2 separate regions of the Homo sapiens genome follow, and region 2 is linked to region 1. The links are contacts of gene promoters, found by promoter capture Hi-C in blood cells and fetal thymus (Javierre and others, 2016). All regions are on one chromosome and are shown on one strand. Each heading gives the region's core, a stretch centred on a gene start or on the middle of the fragment in contact. The rest is flanking DNA. Distances are from core to core; before and after follow the strand shown. Region 1 holds the start of GALNT10 (polypeptide N-acetylgalactosaminyltransferase 10). Region 2 holds the start of LOC124901119 (a long non-coding RNA gene).

Region 1 (3,059 bases), core at 500-2,999:
TGATGCTGGTACTGAATAGGAACAGAGGAAAGAGATTTCATGAACGGAAAATCCATACAGATACAGAATTTCAGGGAGAGAGGTCTAAGCTAGCTGTCAGGGTTTGAACCAGGGGTTTAGGAAAGAGATGGAAACCTTAGTTTCTAAACAGTAAGCTCTACCAGAAAGATCAATGAGACCCTCTGGGATGCTTTGCAGCAATTAACAGAGTTACAGGCGGAGCTCAAATTGGTCAGCTCTGTAGCAAAGAGCCCTCTGTGCTCCAGATGCCAGACTGCCTAGACAGCAGCCTGATACTGGGAAGAATAAGGAAAACCATCAATCTCAGAAAAGCCAGCCTCTTTCGTCGAGGCCAGCCAACAGTCAGTCAAGTCTGACCCTGATACACAAATTATCCACTTCTCATGGGACCAGAGAAATCCCGTAAGAAAGCCTGAAATGTTCCACTATATGAAACAGTCTAAGCAATACACTCACTAGCACCTCCTGGGAGGGTGGGAGTGATGTGACAGAGCTTCTGCTATGAGGGAGCTGCTAGTCTAAATGCGTGCACGCACACATACACACAAACATACGTGGGTAAGTTCAAAGGAGGCAGAAACCATTCCGATCCCAGTTTTGGCTGCAATAAACACTACAACTAACCAGACTAGACAAGTTCAGAAGAGATAGGGAAGGCTTCTGGTGTTCCATCCTCAGGACACTGGGCACCAATAGCCTCTGGGACATTTTGGGGGTCCCCCCACCAGAGCCCCACCTCTGGACTCCCATAAGGTCAAAGGCAGCAGGTCCCTCAAGGACCAGGAGCTTACCCCCTTCTCCACCCCCAGGGGCTTGAAGCTTTAAAGGGAGCATGATCTTTACATTCTGCAAGGAATCCACAGGATCTGAGAAAGGAAAAGGCTAGAGTTGGGGCGGGGGTGTTGAATAAATGGGGAGAGGAGGAAGGCCCGGGTGTCTCGTTGGGCAGATGAGAAATCAGGAAAAGGGCTGACCTGAGCAAAGAACACTGGGATCAGCAGGTAGGGGTTGTGGGGGGGGGGGGGTGGGAGGAGGGAAGCAGAGAGGACCTGGACACCAAATAGAAGAACCAGAATCTTCATTCCTATTGGCACAAGGCAGGAGTCATCCTGGGATACAGGGATGCAGATAGGATCCTTCAAAAGAGATCCGCTGGAAGACGTCAAGGAATACCAGACGGGGACAGAAAGGAAGGTGGTAACATGTGGTGAGAAATAGCGTCCTGAGTGCTAGTTCGGACTCAGTCTCTGACTGGCGTGGGACCCTGGACAAGTCCCGACAGGACTTAATTTTCCCATCCGGAAAATGGGAAGAGCTGAAGAGTCTCGGAGCTGACTCTGAGGAGGCAGACAGCAGAAGGTGGAGGAAGGAACCACAGGCTAAAAGTGAATTCGGGAAGGGGGTGTTCCCGGCCTGTAGCAACGGGGGGACTCACCTGTCCCGCCGCCGGCGCCACCGCCGCCCCCGATCCCCCAGGGGTGCCGTCGGGCTGCCGCTCGCGGTACAGCGCCCAAAGCCCCACGTTGGGCAGGAGGACCAGGGCCGCCAGCACCAGCGCCACCGCCTGCAGGAGCCGCTTCTCCTTCCGCCTCATCGGGGCCGGTCAGCCCCGCCGCGCCCCGCCGGCCCCGCCGCGCCGCCCCCAGCTCCGCGCGTCCGCCCGTCCGCCCGGCGGCGGCAGCAGCTCAGCCAGCAGAAGCGGCTGCGGCGCCGGCCCCGCTCCAACTCCGCGGCACTTCCGCCGCTCGCCGGCCGGGGAGCTGGGCGCCGCCACCACGCCGCCGCCACGAGGGGGTCGTCGCCGCCGCCACCGCCCCCGGGCCCCGCCGAGCCGCCCGCCCCGCGCCGCCTGCCCCCGCGTCGACCGCCGAGTCTCTGCGCTGCAGGCTCGGCCCTCTCACGGAGCGTCTCGGCCCGCCCGGGCGCTGCAGGATGCCGGGCCGGAGCGCTTCCCCCCTCTCGAGCCGCGATGGTCCGTCCCACTCCTCGGCGGCTCCCCCGCCCTCTGGAGCTTTGCGAAAGTCCCGGAGTTGGCGAGTTGGGCGCTAACTGGTGCGGGCTGGGCACCGCTGGGTGGGGTGCATGTCCGCTCGCCCGGGTACCCTGCCGCCCCGCCCGGCAACCTCCGCCCGGGACTGCAGCCGAACCTTTGCTGCCTCCCTGGGGATATGCAAATAGTGCTGGGGCCCCGCCGGGCGTTCTGAGCCTGGAGCCCCCGGGGCTGTCACTTCCAGCCCACCTAGGCTCGGCCCCCAGGACCTGCGGACCTACTTTGACCCCGGCGACTCGGTGTTCCCGGCCATGAAACGGGGCCACAGCCGTGCTGCACGCTCACTGTTCCGCGGGCGGGCCCTGGTTTTCTTCCTCTAGGGGGGCCCTGGCGTTAGGTGTGAACGCCCTCTGCAAACTGTAGGGAGCTGTGCCCGGCCGCCGCCCGTCTGTAGATCCTGCAAACCGGCGGGTGGGTAAGTGACGGTAGCCTCTCTGCAGCACCTTTCCTCACGCAAGTCCAACCCCCTTGGAGTTAGAATGCCCTGCATTCTCACGCGTGCTTTTGGATCCTAAGCGCACTGAGCCCTTCCCGGAAAGCTCTCAGCAAACCGTTGGCGAGCGCCACTATGTGCCAAACACTGTGCCAGGCTCTGGGATGAAATGAAAACAGACCTGAGCCCTGACGTCTGGGAGCTGAAACATGAAACACGTAATTTCACTAGACCAGGCAATGTGTCTGTAACTGTGGCGAGGGCTTTGACAGAGGAGTCGGGCTTCTGGGCGATGCGGAGGGCCGTGGAGCCGGACTCCGACGGTGATGCCAGCCAGCGGCTCCTCCTCGGGGCGCTCGACGCTGGTCACTTAGCTGCCTCCTCCCTGATGCGGTGGAACGGAGCACCCCCTTGGCTACCTTACTCTCTGCCACCCCCACATTCGTCCTCTTGATTCTCTGCTTCTCTAGCTCAGCCGCTGACCTTCGTGCCTAGCTGCCACTAGTCCTTGACCAGCGTTCTGGCAACTCTTGCCTCCAAGTTCTTCCAGCTCCA
Region 2 (2,762 bases), core at 25-2,524, 690 kb before region 1:
TTCAGGCTAGGGAGACCCCAAGTCAGGATTATAAGGGGAAGAAACAAAGTGAGCTGGGGAAGGGTCTGGGGCAGTTGCAGCTACTGGAGGGGGAGGGAAGTTAGTGGTGTTTGGTGGGGGAAGGTGGTCTAAGGGGTCCCACGTGTTGGTTGACTTTTTGGGATGAGGGATATTAATTTCTTGAGAAGAAGTAGCTTCTGGCTTGTCCCCCGTATCCTTTAGGGAACAGAGGACAGGCCCCCACCACCAACACAGGGCATAGTCTATTTCCTCCTGGGAGACAGGACTTTTGTTATTGACATACCCTATTAAAAGCTGACAAATCCAATCCTCACTAGATCGAAACTTTTGGCCAAAAGACTGAAGGTTTGAGGATAGGTTTTTTGGTCCAAATAAAACAGCAATATTTTATCGTTTGTTGCTTTTTCTTGTGTTTGGTCCTTTCATTATCCTTCCAGTATGTTAACATGAGACCTAGAGGGCTATCAGAGGGAATTTTATTGTCTGTCTTATCCTTCTTATTTCCTGTCCTGCTTGAGGTATTTCCCATTCTGGAAGTTTTAGGTGTTTCCCTGAGTTTCCTGAGTCTGTGTGGCTCAACCTCTTTTATGAGAGATTTCTTGCCCCCTTTTCCCTGAAGGTTCAACCCCTCCCCTGCCACTGGAGGTTTCTTGCACTCCCCTACTTTTGTTTCATCCTTCTCCGGCCACTTCCCTTATGGGAATTTGGGTCCCTCTTAGCATTGGCGGGTCGGTATAAGCCTCATGACAGGAAAGCTGCCCTAAGCCATATGAGGTGACCGTGGAACCACAGATCCGGACTGCACACTTGCTTTGCACTCAACTGTGCATCTTATTCACACACTTTCAACCTCCAGGATGTCCTGACCACCAAAGAAGTACTTCACCGCCCCCGCAGCTTTTCTTACCTTGGTGTGTGCAGAGGAGTTACCTGGTCGCCACAGTATTTGTAGGACTTTTCTTCCTTCATTGCTGAGAGTCCAGGTTTATTCGTCACACCAGGTGGGTCTTGATTCCTTATTCCTGAGGCCATTGCAATGAGGCAGCAGGACGCATCTCCTCATGAGAGGTGATCAGAGACCCTTCCCTAGAGGAGAATGGGATGCCAGATGAGCCCCCAAATAGTTGGAAATAAGAGCTCGGAGTTGCAAAGAAAATGAGCTCTCAAAAGACTTCTCAGCAAGGCAAATTTACTTCTGAGAAGGGTGCTGCCTGCAACAGTCATGATCGCAAGAGCACACTGAACAAAGGAGAAAAGTTTTTATCCCTAATGCAGCTTCTGTTTCTGTGTCCTTTCCCCATTGGCTGTAGTCGGACCACACAATGTAAGCTAACCCGATTGGCTAAAACTTGAAATTTTTCCAAATAGGGTAGATGGGGAAGAAGGGGTAGGAGTGGTAAAACTTTTCCAAACAGAGTAAACTGAAACATTTAAATGCGTAACTTGTTGTTTTTTTTTTGTTTTGTTTTTTGTTTTTTTTGAGACTGTCTCTGTTGCCCAGGCTGGAGTGCAGTGGCGCGATCTTGGGTCACTGCAACCTCCACCTCCTGGGTTCACGCCATTCTCCTGCCTCAGCCTCCCAAGTAGCTGGGACTACAGGTGCCCACCACCATGCCCGGCTAATTTTTTGTGTTTTTAGTAGAGACAGGGTTTCACTGTGTTAGCCAGGATGGTCTCAATCTCCTGACCTCATGATCCACCCGCCTTGGCCTCCCAAAGTGCTGGGATTACAAGCGTGAGCCACTGTGCCCAGCCTAAATGCGTAACTTGTAAAGAAAAGAAAGGAGGGGAGGGAGGGATTGTCCGTTAAGGCATGTTTGGGCATGTTTAGGCATGGCAAAGATGGAAAGGCTTGTTTAGAGAACAAGAATGTATCTTCTAGCAATGTGAAATGACATTAGTCGCTAAAAGAAACAAAGAAGTTTGAAGAGGAACTGACTGTTTCTGGCACCAGCTATTTGGGAGGCTGAGGCAGGAGAATTGCTTGAACCTGGGAGGCGGAGGTTGCAGTGAGCCAAGATCATGCCACTGCACTCCAGCCTGGGCGACAGAACAAGACTCTGTCTCAAAAAAAAAAAAAAAAAAAAAAAAAAAAAGAATTACAAGCCAGCACGGTGGCTCATGACTGTAAGCACTTTGGGAGGCCAAGGCAGGCAAATCACTTGAGGTCAGGAGTTTGAGACCAGCTTGCCCAACATGGTGAAACCCCATCTCTACTAAAAAAATATAAACATTAGCTGGACATGGTAGCATGCACCTGTAGTCCCAGCTACTCAGGAGGGTGAGGGTGCAGTGAGCTAAGATCATGCCACTGCACTCCAGCCTGGATGACCGAGTGAGACCCTGTCTAAACCTCGAAAGAATTACACCTTAAGTGATTCTCTTGGTTACCCTACAGTGCCATCACTTTTTGAGGATGAGCATTCACATAGACCTATATGCACTCATACACACAAAGTTCTTGCCAGTTCCAAGACTTGTGCTCTTTCTTGCTAAAGCACTACTCTAAGCTCTTAACTCTCACATGCAATGATGACCAAACCCCACACTCAACACTGAGTTCCTCAACCCTTTGAGCATTTCTCCTGACATGTAAGTAAGTCCTTAATTGTAGAAAATATTAAATGTCCTGCTTTAATTCAAATTTGGAAGGGTATCTGCATAGCGCTCACAGTCACCAGCATGCCAGGGCACCCTGGTTGAGAACCACTGACTGCTGTTTCACCAGAAATTACAGTGAT

Evidence for each region. Contacts are between HindIII fragments. The CHiCAGO score rates a contact against its expected background, and 5 or more counts as called.
Region 2: a contact is called between a fragment that was not itself captured here and the fragment with the promoter of GALNT10 in region 1, in 1 of 17 cell types (total B cells). The highest score is 6.4, in total B cells.

What each region holds. Positions count from the first base shown.
Region 1 is chr5:154,189,423-154,192,481 of GRCh38, reverse strand. GALNT10 (polypeptide N-acetylgalactosaminyltransferase 10) reads right to left here and starts at 1,749. Exons shown (of 12, transcript NM_198321.4): 1 at 1,457-1,749. The coding sequence starts at 1,615. LOC124901118 (a long non-coding RNA gene) reads left to right here and starts at 2,403. Exons shown (of 2, transcript XR_007059010.1): 1 at 2,403-2,486. RefSeq lists silencers at 1,454-1,513, 1,584-1,663, 1,754-1,863, 1,874-1,973, 2,064-2,153 and an enhancer at 2,374-3,059. The HindIII fragment of the contact is 10,101 bases long and covers 843-3,059 here.
Region 2 is chr5:154,877,259-154,880,020 of GRCh38, reverse strand. It overlaps LOC124901119 (a long non-coding RNA gene), which reads right to left and starts at 1,262. Exons shown (of 2, transcript XR_007059011.1): 1 at 929-1,262. The HindIII fragment of the contact is 3,573 bases long and covers 1-2,762 here.